Regions from separate parts of the Homo sapiens genome. Here regions 2, 3, 4 and 5 are each linked to region 1. The links are contacts of gene promoters, found by promoter capture Hi-C in human tissues and cell types (Jung and others, 2019). All regions are on one chromosome and are shown on one strand. The core of a region is centred on a gene start or on the middle of the fragment in contact, and the rest is flanking DNA. Distances in the headings are between cores, read along the strand shown.

What was found. The method cuts DNA at HindIII sites, captures the fragments that hold promoters and counts their contacts. A contact is called where the count stands out against the background at its distance.
Region 2: a contact is called between a fragment that was not itself captured here and the fragment with the promoter of METAP1 in region 1, in 1 of the 25 tissues and cell types used here (hippocampus).
Region 3: a fragment that was not itself captured here is called in contact with the fragment with the promoter of METAP1 in region 1 in 1 of the 25 tissues and cell types used here (hippocampus).
Region 4: a contact is called between a fragment that was not itself captured here and the fragment with the promoter of METAP1 in region 1, in 1 of the 25 tissues and cell types used here (dorsolateral prefrontal cortex).
Region 5: a fragment that was not itself captured here is called in contact with the fragment with the promoter of METAP1 in region 1 in 1 of the 25 tissues and cell types used here (spleen).

The regions. Positions count from the first base shown.
Region 1 is chr4:98,994,163-98,996,986 of GRCh38, reverse strand. It overlaps METAP1 (methionyl aminopeptidase 1), which reads right to left and starts at 1,266. Exons shown (of 11, transcript NM_015143.3): 1 at 1,120-1,266. The coding sequence starts at 1,233. RefSeq lists enhancers at 71-853, 1,775-1,824 and silencers at 595-1,054, 1,215-1,534. The HindIII fragment of the contact is 14,445 bases long and covers 1-2,824 here.
Region 2 is chr4:98,293,396-98,296,542 of GRCh38, reverse strand. It overlaps RAP1GDS1 (Rap1 GTPase-GDP dissociation stimulator 1), which reads right to left. Exons shown (of 15, transcript NM_001100427.2): 2 at 3,028-3,135. Among named protein-coding and RNA genes, the nearest start is that of RAP1GDS1, 34 kb to the right of the region's middle. The HindIII fragment of the contact is 3,026 bases long and covers 1-2,813 here.
Region 3 is chr4:98,206,566-98,209,786 of GRCh38, reverse strand. No RefSeq gene overlaps it. Among named protein-coding and RNA genes, the nearest start is that of RAP1GDS1, 53 kb to the left of the region's middle. The HindIII fragment of the contact is 5,877 bases long and covers 1-3,221 here.
Region 4 is chr4:98,383,669-98,386,858 of GRCh38, reverse strand. The region is part of intron 5 of RAP1GDS1 (Rap1 GTPase-GDP dissociation stimulator 1); the gene reads right to left. Among named protein-coding and RNA genes, the nearest start is that of RAP1GDS1, 120 kb to the right of the region's middle. The HindIII fragment of the contact is 5,575 bases long and covers 1-3,190 here.
Region 5 is chr4:99,967,780-99,970,789 of GRCh38, reverse strand. The region is part of intron 1 of H2AZ1-DT (H2AZ1 divergent transcript); the gene reads right to left. Among named protein-coding and RNA genes, the nearest start is that of H2AZ1-DT, 19 kb to the right of the region's middle. The HindIII fragment of the contact is 4,750 bases long and covers 1-3,010 here.

The DNA of each region.
Region 1 (2,824 bases), core at 17-2,516:
CCCCTCTGTACAGTGTAACACTGGAACTCAGAAAGATTAAGTAACTTTACTAATTCAAGATCGCACAATAACTGGCAAGGGCAGGGCCCCAATCAGGCCTTCTCTTTATTCCGGCTCTCCTCCCCACAGGACGCTACCAATTTAATATTTGAATATTCATGTGCCTCTCTTCACTAAACCTGGACTGTAACTAAGAGCCATACTATTGCCGCCCAGCCCTCATCCTGGGTCTCGAAATGCAGCAGCAACACTAGTACTCTTCAGTAAACAGAAACACGAGCACACGCTTCAGTCTGGACCCCATTCAACGCTGGGTTTGCTCTACTGCACAAAACTTAAAATACACTACAGCATTCACGCCTAACCCTCAATGGAACTGTCCTTTTCACTCTGGGAAATTCAGTCACAGGTGACTCATCCCGTTAGCTTACAGTTTTGTAAATTAATAATTTTATATACCGAAAGAAAAGAATGAATTACACAGACCTCTCCCTTCCCCACCCCCAAAGTTGCTTAAGTGTCAAAGCACGGTAGTAAAGCACAAAGAAGTGGGGCTGGAGCTAGCTAGCGTTCCTCCTCTCTGCGACTCCGACGGTCCTCGGGCCACCCATCTCTCAGAGCCCGGCAGGTAGCTTCAGCCCCCCACCCCGCAGGGACCCGACGGACGGCCCGGCGCCTCCAGCGCCCAGACCCGAGCCCCGCCGGTGCTGCGGATGTGGAGGCTCGCGACGCTCGGGCTGCCCTCCTTCCCGGCGCCGCTACCTGCCTCCGGCAGCCCGCACACCTGGCGGCCCCCGCCCCAGCGCGGGGAACCGGCCCCAGAACGCGGAGGTCTAGCGCGGCCACGCGACCCCGCACAGCCCGCTTCCGCCCCAGCCCACATGGCCGCGGCGGGTGGCGCCCCCGCCCCCGCGTGAGCCCAGCGCGGTTCCCGAGGACCCAGGGACCCCAGGAGGCAGGAGGGGGCGGTGGCGACGCGGGTGGGGGGAGGAGGAAACGCGGCCGGGGGGAAGAGGAGGAGCGCGTCCCGACTCGCCGCAAGGGCGGGAGGAGCCAGCAGGGGAGAAGCGAGGAGGGGTCCCGCAGCGGCGGCATATCCGCGGGGCAGCGGGCGCCTACCTGCGAGCAGAAGTACGAGCCCTGGATGCCCAGCTTGATGCAAGTGGGACACTGGAGCTTGGCCTCACTGCTGCAGCCGTCTGTCTCGCACACCCGCGTCTCCACGGCCGCCATGCTGCCTGCCCGCTGGAAGAGCGCCTCACCGAGGAAGAGGCGGCGGCGGGAGGGAGGAACTGCCGGGCGGAGGGGAGGGGAGAGAGACCGAGTCGGGGGAGGAGCTGGGCCCGCCGCTGGCCTGGGCGCGGGAGGGGGAGGAGCCAGGGCCGGCCGGGACCACGCAGCGCGCCCCGCCCCGGCCCCGCCCCCGCCCCGCGCGCGCAGCTGGTGCCCCGCCCCGCCGGCTTCGCCCCGCCCCCCGCCGGCGGTGCCTGCGTGCCCAAGCCTCCCGGCGGCGCGCACATTGGGGCTGTAAGGGAGCTCGGCAGGGCCCCCCCATTCGGCGCCTTCGGGCGTCGGCCAGCAGAGAACGCGACCTGCCGGCGCCTGACGGTGAGGAGCCGCCCTCTCGCGGCGCACTCTCTGTGCCTACAGTCAGATAAGACAGTCGTCTTCACTGACGAACACCCAGGAGCCCTGATCATCCCCGACACCCGCAGGAGGCTAGAGAGGGCGCTGCGCTCCTCTGCGTTGGATTCCCCCGCCGCTCCTTGGAGAACAGTCCCTTGGGTTAAGTTCTGTTTCTCACTGACATTGTCGGGTCTGAGGCCTAAGGACCACCGCTCATTCACAGAAAGGAGAGCCATAGAGCTGTCAACGGGACGGTGGGCTGGGATTCACATCTGCCCTCCCTCCTGCCAGACTTTTTTTTTCCACACACCACCACCTCCCCTTCAAAACCGATAGTGCTAGTAATAGTAACACAACTGTCAGGTATTCAATACAAATAATTTTTTTGTATAATCCCAGTTGATTGCTTCAGCAGTAAATAGGGGAGAATTGTGCTGATCCTGAAATGTCAGAGTCGAAAGAAGCTGTAAAGGCCTTCCCCTGCGAACCTGTTGCTTCAATCTTTTCAGCTGTATTCCAGGTCGGTTGTGTTGTAACTCATGCTTGAGTGCCTCCTTGTCACTAGGGAAGAGCGAAAAACTAACATTTACTGATCACAAAAGGCTGTGAACTTTGTTATTGTATTTTTTTAACTTCTCCGTACTTAATACACCAGAAAAGCTCATACTACTTTTATTTTTAAGAACTTTGTTTTGGCTAGGAGCGGTGGCTGACGCCTGTAATCAATCCCAGCACTTTGAGAGGCCAGGGCATCCAGGGCACCAAGGCCAGCGGATTCTTTGAGGCCAGGAGTTCGAGACCAGGGTGGAAATATGGCAAAACCCCGTCTCTACAAAAACTAAAACTAAAAACTAAAAAATTAGCCGGGCATGGTGGCAGGCGCCTGTAGTCCCAGCTACTGAGGAGGCTGAGCTGGGAGGATCTGTTGAACCTGAGAAGTCAAGGATATGGTAAGCTATGATCCTGCCACTGCACTCCAGCCCAAACGGCAGAGCAAGACCATGTCTCAAAAAAAAAAAAACTTAGTTTTGCAATATAAGCAGTAAAAATGATGTAATAAAATCAAGTAATAGAAATGTTTACATGCATACATACATATACTTTTGTATACAAGAAAAAAATCAATAAGTATGTATGTATGTATAAAATATTTTTTAAATAAAAACTGCACCATACCATATAAAGTAATTTACTTACC
Region 2 (3,147 bases), core at 51-2,550, 700 kb after region 1:
TATATTAATTTAGATCATAGATTTACACAAAATGCTTGCTTAAACAAAATGTTTTCATAAAATCTAGTAAGTATTCAAATCTTCTTGTCTCTTAAGATAGACACATATAGTATAAACGTTACAGAGAGAAATACTGCCAATGGTAAAAAAAGAAAACCACTCTAAAGCCATACATCAAAGTAAAAATTCTAATTTCAGATTACAGTCATTTGTAATATGCAATTCAAATGCACTAAATCACACAGTGTAAAAATTTCAAAAGCATTATTTTGTTCCTTTCAGAGATAACCTTTCCAGTAACAGGGTAATAGACTGTAAAATAAAATTTTGTTTATATTTCCATTACATACATTACCATCTTATATTTGTACAGAATGGAGAAATCTTTCTTTCCTGATCAGGTGCAATTATGGTACAGTTGTTATTTTTAGTTAAAACACCTGACACTAAGGAAGAATTATGAAACGAGAAGCTCTCTGTGTTTTTGTTGTTGTTGTTGTTGTTGTTGTTGTTTAAAAAGCAAGTACAGATTCTTCTAAGTTAAATGTTTTATAATTTTACATTTAGGAGGACAGAAGTAGCAATGGCTCAATCACCTTATTCAAGGAAGAACTGTAGAAAATTAACATCTCACTAATATATTTTACTTTTTCTTGTTAAAAAGGCATATGCTGACTTTATAAAGTGTATCAATAAATGCCTATAAAATACATATATCACTTTATAGTTCAAGAAAAACAGGCTTATCCACTTTAATAAAAATTTAGAGCTATTTTTATTAAAGAAAAAACAAAAATTTAAAACACAATGTTAAAACCTAGCTTCTTGGAATGATTTCACATTACATGAACTCAGCAAAAAGCTTCACTTTATTCAGATTACAATTTTTTATTTTGTAAATCAAGAGTTCAAATCCAAACTCTGGCTTCTTCCAGAGCAAGGCAAATAAGCTTATTAATCTGTTACCTCATCCTTTAAATGGTGATAATAATACCTACCTCATGGGACTATAGGAAAGATTAGATAGTGGCTATAATCCCCAGCCCAGTGCTAAACATACAGTAAGTGATCCAATGACAGGTGTCAAAGACTGAACATCTGCATGAACTCCTTTTTCCAATTCTTCTTTGTCAGTAGTCTTAGGCTTGAGGGCATTTATAAATTTTGTTTCAGATTGTTAACAAGACATTCCTTTTGTTCCCTTCCTGGGGCATCATTAGTTAAATTGGTGAGAGTTTATTGTTTTAATACCTTGTGGTTACGTGGCCTTAACATTTTGTGATACACAATTTCACAAGACCATTTTCAACAAAAGGTACAGTGAATAAGTCCGCAATGGGCTTATTCTAATGTAAGCTAATTTAATCTAATAATTATGAACTTCTCAGTGTTTCTTAAATCTGTTCTTTTAAAAGCTATACACTTTTTACTCCCTTTTTTCTTCATTTCCCTTCAACTTCATCTCTTTGTCTTCCAGTCTTCCTAGGAGACAAATGGGCAACCTCTACAGATGACCAAGAATATGACCCTTCATGTCCTTCAGTATCTAAAGCAAATGGTCTATTTAAAAGTTTACTGTCTAACAGAGAAAAAAAGTGTTGCTGAAAACAGACGAAGGTTATAATAAAACAACTGTTCAAAAAAATATACCTGAGATACTCAATTTACTTAGGTTAATTATGTTACTGTGTAAAGCTGCCTATACAGGCACATGTAAAAAAAAATCAGGTCATCGTGTGGTTCTTCCTAGTTTCTAGACCAGTGCTATCCATAAGAATTTTCTGTGATCATGGGAATATTTTATATCTGTGATCCCCAAGAGAGTGGTCATCTGCCAAATATAACTACTGAGAAGTGAGACTAAGGAACTTCCTTTTACATTTTATTTACTTGTATTAAATTTAAATAGCCACATGTGTCCACTAAAATGGATAGCAGGCTTAGACGTTCTCCTTTCCTGTCCTTTTTCTTTACCATTTTGAGCCTTATCTGGATGCTCTTATTGAACTCCTTGTTTCAAATCTCTTCCTGTTATCTCTATGATTAAACAGCATGACAGTTGTAATCTAAAATAATTACTGAAAAATAATTTTAAAAGCTAGCTCTAAAATGTGCTTTTTTGATGAAAAGTACTGCAATCAATTATTTTAGATTTTTCTAATCAAGGTTTACTAAAAAATAAAAAAAACATATATCAATAAGTGTTGAAACCTTACAATTAAAACCTTAACAATATATACGTTCCCCTCCATTCTTTGTCAGCTACATAATTAGTTTCAGGATAGGACAAGAGCATAATTAAAAACAAGTACAGAAAAAACCACAGCACAACCAAGCAGAATTAAGATAACAAATGAAAATCACTCTATACTGATCTATTAATGGTGATAATACAGAAATTAGTGACTAGAAATAGGATAAATAAAATGCAACACAATGGTCAATGAAGAACTGTGCAGTTTCTATCTCTAGCATTATTTATCACATCAAAGATAAAATCCTACCCCAATTTCAAAAGATTTTTGATGACTTCTAATGGTTCCTTCCAAATTTATCTATGCATACATATTATTTTAAGGTACAATTATTTTAAAATATGATAAGATTCCAAAAAAATGTTAAGTGTTTTAAGCTCCCCCTCTGTTTCTCCTCTCTCTCCCTCCCCACTCTCCCCACATATAAAACAATCTATTTTTAAAGCACAGATGTAGGTGCTAAGAAAAACAACTACGATGCTTGACTGTTAGAAATGAAACAATGGCCTCTCTCTGGGACTGGTATTAATGTCATCACCACCCATCAATTCCTCCTTTCTTTGCCTATCAGCTTGGCTTTGAGGATCTTGCGGGGGCGTGGAGGGAAGTAGGAGGGTAGAACATGTAAAACAATCTCAGTATTCAGGGATATGATTCAAAAGAATTCAAGTTATATGAATACAAAGTTATGTGCTTAACTACATACCAGTTTCTGAATGACTACTGATTTGATTTTCTTCTTTGGAATTTGAGTAAACATAATGAAACTTACTATTTTGAGCCAGGGCTTGAAGCAGACAATCCAAGCATCCTTCTAAACTATCCTCAGTCTTGTCAACAGCTGTTATCTTCAGCTTCTTCAAGGTATCACTGAGATTATCTGCTTAAAGAA
Region 3 (3,221 bases), core at 488-2,987, 790 kb after region 1:
GGTGGGAGGATCTCTTGAGCTCAGGAGTTCAAGACCAGCCTGGGCAACAAAGTGAGACCCTGTCTCTACAAAAAAATTTAAAAAATTAGCCAGACATGGTGGCATGCACCTGTAATCCCAGCTACACAGGAGGCTGAGGCAGGAGGATCACTTGAGCCCAGGACGTCAAGGCTACAATTAGCTATGTTTGTACTACTGTACTCCAGCCTGGGTGAGAGAAAGAGACCCTGTCTCAAAAACAAAAACAAAAACAAACACAAAAACAAAAACAAAAACGTGACAACTACCACCAATTCTAAATTGGATGTAATGCAGTTATTGAGCATCTTAATGAAGTCTATTTCCATAAAATATTACAGTAGCATTTCCTGCATGACAGTGTTGCCTGTATTGGGCAGTTTTATGAAAGTTTTATCTTACTCCCTTTTATGGAAGGCCAGGTTTGGGTGCTAGTTAAGCAGACAGATGGACTACGGGTTAGATTATGCAATGGTTACCTGAAGTAGGAGGAACAGGAGCCAGAGTGAAAGCAAGTGGAGTCTCAGAGAACTGAAAATAAAAACCAAGAAAACCAAATTTGTTATCCTTTTCAAGAGATAATCCTAGGCCAGGAATAGGAGACAGGCCTGGGGACAAAAGTTCAGGGCCACTAGTGTAGGGATCACTTATATGATGGCACTGGTATTCAGGAAGATTCTCTCGTTTTAATTTAAATTATTAATTTTATAGAAAATATGCACATGATAAAAAATTAAACAAGTACATAGAGCTATGAAATGAAATGTGAAGTCCCCCACCCCCGTCTCACTTCTACTTCCACTCTCCAAATCATTGTTACTAGTTTCTTACATATCCTCCCAGGAATTTTCTATCCACATGGAAATATGGAATTTTTACTTTAAAAATTATTATATTTATGATGAAGTTATATTAAAGTGTAAATGTAAGTCAGGTAATACCTCAACAAACAAACAAAACAAAAAACAGAACAAAACAAAAAAAAACCCACGAAAAGTTCCCCAGTAAAAATCTACAAAATAAGCATAGTCCTGAGAATCAAAATCCAAACAAAATGGAGCATTCATTACTAGTCATTTTTTATTATGGTCAATGAAAATTATAGGGAACAAACCAGTTAATTGAAACCAGATAGAAAGACATTGAATATCCTTAAAGCAAACATGCATGTGCCTTTTAAATTCTTTTAAATAACAATGGAATCATGCTGTTAGCTGCTTTTGTACCAAGCTTTATTTTCTTTAACAATATTTTTTTTGGAGAATTCCATATCAGCCTATATAGATTTATCTTAAAGTTCTTGATTACTGAACCATTTCTATTATACAGATTTGCTGTAATTTCTACAACCAGTTCAATATTAGTGAACACTGAGCTAATTGCAATTTTTGCTTTCAAACAATGTTGCAATAAATATTTTTTTTTTGCACATTTGTGTGAGTGTATCTGTATAAGTTCCTTTTAAATGTAATTACTGTATCAATTTTTTTTTTTTTAAGACAGGGTCCTGCTCTGTCACCTGGGCTGGAATGCAGTGGCTGGATCTCGGCTCACTGCAACCTCCACCTCCTGGGCTCAAATGATCCTCCTACCTTGGCCTCCCAAAGTGCTGGGATTACAGGCATGAACCTCTGCGCCCTGCTGGCCTACTGTGTCCATTTTAACACTTAAAATTTTAAATTCTAACAGGCCTGGTGTGGTGGCTCATGCCTGTAATCTCAACACTTGGGAGGCCTAGGTGGGAGGATTTCTTAAACCCAGGAGGTCAAGACCAGCCTAGGCAACATAGTGAGACCCTGTCTCTACAGAAAATAAAAAATTAGCCAGGTATGGTGTTGCATGCCTATGGTCCCAGCTACTCAGGAGGCTAAGGTGGAAGGATTGCTTGAGCCCAGGAGGTTGCAGCTGCAGTGAGCCATGATCACACCACTGCATTCCAGCCTGAGCTGGAGTGAGACCCTGTTTCAAAGAAAAAAAAATTGTCTGGGCCTGGGGTGGCTGATGCCATTAATGCCAGCACTTTTGGTCGCCAAGGTCAGGGGGATGGTTTGAGGCCAGGAATTTGAGACTAGCCTGGGCAACATAGTGAAACCCTCTCTCTACAAAAAATACAAAAATTAGCCAGGCATGGTGGCACATGACTATAGTTCCAGCTACTTGGGAGGCTGAGGTAGGAGAACCACCTGAACCCGGAGAAGTTGAGGCTGCAGTGAGCCGTGATCACACTACTGCACTCCAGCATTGGTGACGGAGTGAGACCTTGTCAATAACAACAAAAAAACTAGATAGATGATAGATGATAGATAGATAGATAGAGAGAGAGAGAGAGAGAGAGAGAGAGATAGAGAGAGAGATAGATATTGACAATTTGTCCTTCAAAGAAATTGTACCAATTTACATCCATTAATGCAGAGGAATGTGCCTGTTTCCCGAAAGTTTCCCCATGACTGGGTATTTCAACTTCCAATTCTTTGCTAATGTCCTAAGTGAGAAAGGTGGTATATCAATTTTTAAAAGTCTTTCGAATTAATTGCAACTGGTTGATTATTTTTTAATAAGATTCTCAGCTATTTTTATTCCTTTTTTAAAATAGAGGAATAAGATAGACCACATCCATCTTCTCTCAAAACCCTCCTATGGTTTTCCATTTTATCCAAAGTAATGTTCATAGTTCTTACTGTGTTCTACAAGACCCTAAAAGACTGGCTCCTGACGTCCTCTCTGACCTTATCTTTCAATCCCACTCCTTTTCCCTCTGCTCCAACTATACTGGTTTTCTCACTATTCATCAAGCATGTCAGACATGTTCATGTCTCAGGTTCTTTGCTTTTGATGTTCCCTCCGCCTGGAATTCTTTTCCCTCTGTAGCAGCGTGGCTCACTCACTTCAGCTCACTGCTTGGTGCCAACTTTTCAGAGAGCTCTTACCTTACCATCCCACTGAAAGTTGCCTATGCCTCCCTCATTCTGTCTCTTCTCACCCACCTTTATTCTTCTTCATAACACTCTACCTGAAATGTTATCCATATATCAGTGGTTGTCAACAGGGGAGAGAGGTATTTGGCAATATCTAAAAATATGTTTGGTTTTCACAAGTGGGGAGGGTGATTGCTACCATGGGCATCTAGTGGGTAGAGACCAGGGATGCTGTTAAACATCCTACAATGCACAGGACAGCCTCTCACACAAAGAATTATCCATTCT
Region 4 (3,190 bases), core at 620-3,119, 610 kb after region 1:
TTTTAGCTCTATTATAACACTGCAAAGTAAACTGACTTAAATATGGCTACCAAGAGGATGATTAGTGGTTAAAAACTTTATATACTCAAATGTTTATAAAGTGGAGAACTTTATTCTAAGCCTAGTGTTGAGGATATAAAAACTAGATTACTTACATGTGTTTAAAATTCAATTATTTTAAAGCCTTCTTTATATCAAACATGCATGTGTTTTGCACCCAGATTGTCGCTTTAAGCCCCATTATACATTTCAATGATACATAGAAATTTCAAAAAAAAAAAAAGCCAACATTCATTAATATTGACAATATTGGAGGTTTAAAACAATACATTTATACATTTCTTCCTAGTCGCTAACAAATAAAAAACTAGAAAAGATAATTCTAAGGTTCTTTCTGGGTTCTGAAAATAAAAATTGTCTCTACATGGCAAAATTTCCCTTTTGTAAAAGTTTTAAATATAAATGGCAAAATTATATGTGTGAGATTGATGTAAAACAGAAGCAACAACAAAAAAATGCCAAAGCAAAAATCAACAGATAGTAAAAATATTTTATTATTCTTAAGAAACTTATTCATTTACTGTTCTCAATATAATGACAACTAGAGTGATTATGCCTTAATCTAGTAGATAATTTTTCCCCATATTTACTACAGGTTAATTATTTGTTACAGATCAACTTTTGTTACAATGAATACTGCTACAAAAAAATTCTATAGATATGTTTATTCTGATTAAAGAAAACTCTACGCTTTCATCTCAGAAAAAAACTGGTCTTTTAAGTTAAATGTCTTTTTTTTTTTTAAAGAGGACTACTGCCAGCTGTTGCTTAAGCAGCATTTATTAAGAGAAACCAATTCAGTCTCTGCTTTCATACAGCACTGCTGAGATAAAGACCACATCTACAGTAAGTATAAATTTAAGCCTGAATTTTTGTACAGCAAGTTAAGCTAATGCCAAATTAATTTATATTCCAACGTGTATCTTACAAACATATGCTTAAAAACATAGAAATCCCTTCTTTTACAAAAGAATATATTAGCTTAAAAAAAACTTTTCTAGTTACCATGGGGCATTATTGTAATTTAGTTTTTACAGTTTAAAATTGCACAGAAGTTATTTGCAAGGCAAAAATTCTGTTAACAAGATACATCTGCATATTCAAAAGCATTTCACTTTCTAGTTTTTCAAGTAGGACTTAAAAATTTTTTAGTAAATAAAACAATATAGGCAGTACAGTATTAACTGGATTTTACTTATAGTTAAAAAAACAGGATTAATAATCTTCATAAAAGTTAATTTACACATGATGCTTTTCTGGGTTCAGCGCCTCTCTGAATGGACTTTGTAAATGGCCTAAATTAGACACGCAAATACAGATATCTGGCTAAAACCTATTATTTACCTCTGATTTTAGCCTCAGCTTTTGAAAGGCCAAACAGCTCAATGCTTACTTCAACATCATTTCTGGAACCTAAAAATTTGTGCATGATCAATGATTATGTGCCTCATATCATCATATTTCAACTAGTATAGGAACACTTACAGTAAAGACCTGGTCTTTCAGACTTGTTACTATCTGAATATTTATTTTTAAATATAGGTAAGCATTTCATGTAAAGAGAAAATTTGCCTATATGCTTTATATGTTGAAATTCTATCAGTTGAAATGTAAATGCATATTATTATATTAAAATGCACCAATAATTAATGGTGATATACATCTTGTAAGGATGAAATCAAAATCAGAAAACCAATTTTTCCACTTCAAATTTTCACAATGAGAAAAATCTTGAAAATAATATTTGATAACGGCTATGATTAATCTTCAATCCAGACATAAAGCAAATAAAAATGAGAAAACCATACTAAAGAATGAGCAACTCCAAACATATTTTGCCCTTTCACTGCCCTCAACTAAGTGGGCATCTATGTGGTATTATGATATTAAATGCATTATCATAATCGCAGTAGCAATCTAGAAGCTAACAATGCTGAGAAAGTATTATTCCTGTAATAATATAATGCCAAATTTTAAGTATTAGACTGCTAAAATTACTGACAAAAAGACTATAATAATTTTATTTTTCTAAGATAAAATTTCAGCTTCTTACATTCAGAAGTTCATTCTCTAATGGCCAAAGCTGAATATAAATGCCAATACTTGATCATGTGGAATTAGACCAAAATGTGTATCTGATACACCTCTACTGAAAATCAAGCTCTCAGCCTGTTCATTAAGTAACAGCATTATCATAGAAATAGTCTAGGAAGATTATCACTAAAAGCTAACCTGGTCTAATTGGTCAAATTTAATAGGTTGAATTAGCAAGAGGCACCAGACTAACTAACTGCTCTATTCTTTAGTGAAACAATTTGTTTAAAATAACACTTGTGGTAGAACTTTATGAAAGCAACCTTTTTCAGCAAACTGACTAGAAAGCTGTTGGACAAACAGCAAAAATTCAGGAATTTTTAAAAAAGAGAACAACAGTAAATAAAGAACAACAGTTAGTATAATAAAGAAAGAATAAAAAAGCCTAAGTACTTTTCAGCTGCCCAATAAGTCTTCAACACACTTCATTTAACTCACTGGAGTAAAAAGTGACAAACTGGGCTTCAAAAGATGTTAACTTAAATGTACATCTCCCATGTCTTCATAAATAGAGGAAAAATAAAATACATGTAAGGTAGTATGATGGAAAATTAGTTTCATTAAAAAAGACAGTATCAGAACAAGGATCTCTGAGAAAGAAGAAAAACTTTAAAAAAGATAATAAATTGCAAAGATACAATTTTACCTTTTACATATTGTTTTGTTCTTTTTCCTTAGAGTAAGGTAAAAATAATTTACTATTTAGGAAATATATAAATTATTAACTAGCTTGTAACCACAGTAAGTAAAGTTTAAAAATAGTTCTTCACTCATGTGAAGCAAATCATTTTTCTAAACATCTAACACATCTAGGAAATGCTCTTTTTCACCCGTAATAAAGTATTGTAATACTGAAACATAAGGATAAACATGCAGCTCAGGCCAACATGCTTTTTAGTTTTTAATTATGAACTAAGAAATTGTTGCTATTGACTGAAAGTAGCAGCTAAGATTAATTACACATTAAATAATCTTTAATATGGGGAGAAGTAGTATAGGCCTTTTTTAAACAAGTGAATTTAAACAATGAGCTTAA
Region 5 (3,010 bases), core at 277-2,776, 970 kb before region 1:
ATTGAAAATGGCAAAAACAAAGCCAAAATTTGGTACCAGGATAAAAACAGAAATGGGTTAATCATTAAGATATTGGTTATTTGTATTATTTTATTTCCTGTCATACAAAAACAACATACTGCTTGCAGTTTTATTATAATCTAATATATATAATCTAAATATGACCTGCAGGTACTACTAGAATTATTAAGTAAAAATAGAATTATTGCAGATATTCTGTTAGGTCAAATTTTATTTTATTACGTCAGAGTTAGAAAGATTCTATGGGACAAGGAACAGTAGTTCACACCTGTAATCCCAGGAATTTGGGAGGCTGAGGCGGGAGGATCACTTGAGCCCAGGAGTTCAAGACCAGCCTGGGAAACATAGTGGGACTCCATTTCTACAAAAAATAAGAAATAAAAAAATTATTCGAGTGTGGCGGCACACACCTGTAGTCCCAGCTACTCAGGAGGCTGAAGTGGGAGGATCACTAGAGCATGGGAGGTCAAGGCTGCAGTGAGATATGATTGTGCCACTGCACTCCAGCCTGGGTGACAGTGAGACCCAGTCTCTAAGAAATGAAATCAAATTTAATAAATAAAATAAAATAAAAAGATTCTAACAGAACTATTAGAAAATAGTAGTTTTATATCAGGACCATTATATTAGAATCTTAGAGATGCAAATCTAATAATTAGAGAGACTATATATTGGTAATGCTAAAATAAGTTAACTTGGTGATCAAGATGCCAGCTCTGATCTTGACCCAGGTGCTTTTGGGGCTCCTGGGCTCCCAAAGAATACCAATATTCTTAAATGTGAATTATCCTAGATTCTTAGACAACAAGTCTAAGACAGACTTTATTATTTAAAATATTTGTATATTGTTTTATTACCACACCTCTTTCTTTCCCAGAGTATCTCTTCTATATCCAGCAAATTTTCAACGGCTTCCTTGCAAGGTATTTGTTCCCTATTTTGAAGCTTTCCCAGTTAAGTGAAACCTAACTTCTCAGTAATATATGCAGTTTCAATACAGGGCATCTGGAAGCTCATCAGCAAGATGTGCTTCTGCCAGAGATGAATGAAGAGGGGGGAGAATGGAACCAAGAGGCTGGAGAGTATGATTGGGGGAAAAATTATAAAGGGGCCAGGGGAAGATATAATGGTTGACCATAGATAGAGGCTTTTGGAAAGAGTGAAGATAGCTGTGAACTTGAGAAGAAATTTAGGAAAAGAAAAGAGATGTGTAAAAAGCAGATTTTCTGAAATTTGCCATATGATTTGCTATTTGAACTCACTCTTCTTCACTTTCTAACCTTAATGTGAGTTTGATTTTCAGGTTGTAGTCTTTTCTAATGCTTACCTGTCAAGGTGAAATAAATAGTGGACCCTCTGTATCCGTGGATTCCACATCCATGGATTCAACCAACAGTGGATCAAAAATATTTGGAAAACAAATTGTGTTTGTACTGAATGTCTTTCCTGTCATTATTTCCTAAACAATACAGTGTATCAACTATTTATATTGTATTAGGTATTATAAGTAATCTAGAGATTAAAGTACACAGGAGTATGTGCATAGGTTATATGCAAATACCACAACATTTAATATCAGCGACTTGAGCATCTGATGATTTTGGTATCCACCGGGGTTCGTAGAACCAATCTCCAGAGATAACCAGAGACAACTGTACTTAACTATAAAGGTAAAAAATTTTCAGTCATCTACTATCTGAAATCATCTCTACTTAAAAGTTGTACATGGAAATATGTGGAGAAAGAGGAGGGCTTAGGACCAAGCCCTGGGAAAGTGCCATCTTGAAGTCAGGTAGTGAAGAGAAAATAAATGAAAGAAAGCAATAAAAGGAGAAGAGAAGCAACCATATGGTATCCTGGAAGTCAAGAAATGGCAGTATCTGGTGGAAAGTGTGGTCATGCTGCTGAGAGGTAAAAAGAAGGAAGAAAACTGACCCTTGGGTTTGGCAACATGGCAATTAACAGTGACAAGAACCATTTGGGAGGCCTGATGGGAATGAAAGTCAAATATAAGTGGTTGAAGAGAGATTTGGAGGTGAAAAAGTGACAACCACCTGCAAAGAAAAATCCCATGAAAAGGTTTCTGTGAAAGGGAGCAAAGACAATGTGGCAGCTGGAAGGAGGCCTATGGGAAGCAGAGGAACTCTTTCTTAGCTGTAGTGGGGGAAAAGCAGAAGATGGGTGCAGATGCAGGGAGAATTGTATAACACTGGTAGGAAGAGCAGATTCTCATGGAATGAGGTCATCACTGAAATTGAGGGCAGGGAGTGGGTTAGATCACTGATTCTTAAAACATAGCTGTGCATTGAAGTCATCCAGCAGGTTTTAAATACTGTTTATGCTCAAATCTCACTCCCAAGAGACTCTGATTTAATTGGTATGGGGTGAATCCTACCATTCACGAGTTTCAAAAGCTCCCCACTTTCCACCTCCCCTCCATTCTCGGCCCCAGGATTCTGATATGCACCAAATTTTGAGAAATGCCAGTTAATAATTTTTGAGGATACAGAAGATACTAGGCACCAACTAGTTGCATAGATCCAGACTGCTACGTAGGAAAAATAAAATAAAAGTCATTTCTTGCTTTCAAGGCACTGTAAATCTGTAGGCTATTCAAAAATCTAAAATCATTCCAGAAAATATGAAAGTAATTTAGGAGCATTAGCAATTTAAAGTATATTAAAGAAAGCAGGGTACAAACCATATTCAATGATGCAGAATCAAGGGGAATAAGAGATCAATTTTGGAGATGGTGGCTCAGGGAATGTTCACTAAAGGAGAGTATTGAGCCATATTTTGAAGAAGTAAAGTGCAAAAATTGACAGCTATCTGAAGCACATTTCAGATAGAGGAAGCAACAAAAGCTTTGTAAACAAAAGCAGGTGATCAGGGAAACTATGGAGAAAACACATTGCTGAGCAACTGAAGGATAGGAGTGGGAGAGAGAATTTTCACTCTATACCACTTTTTTTAGCCTTTTAAATGTTGA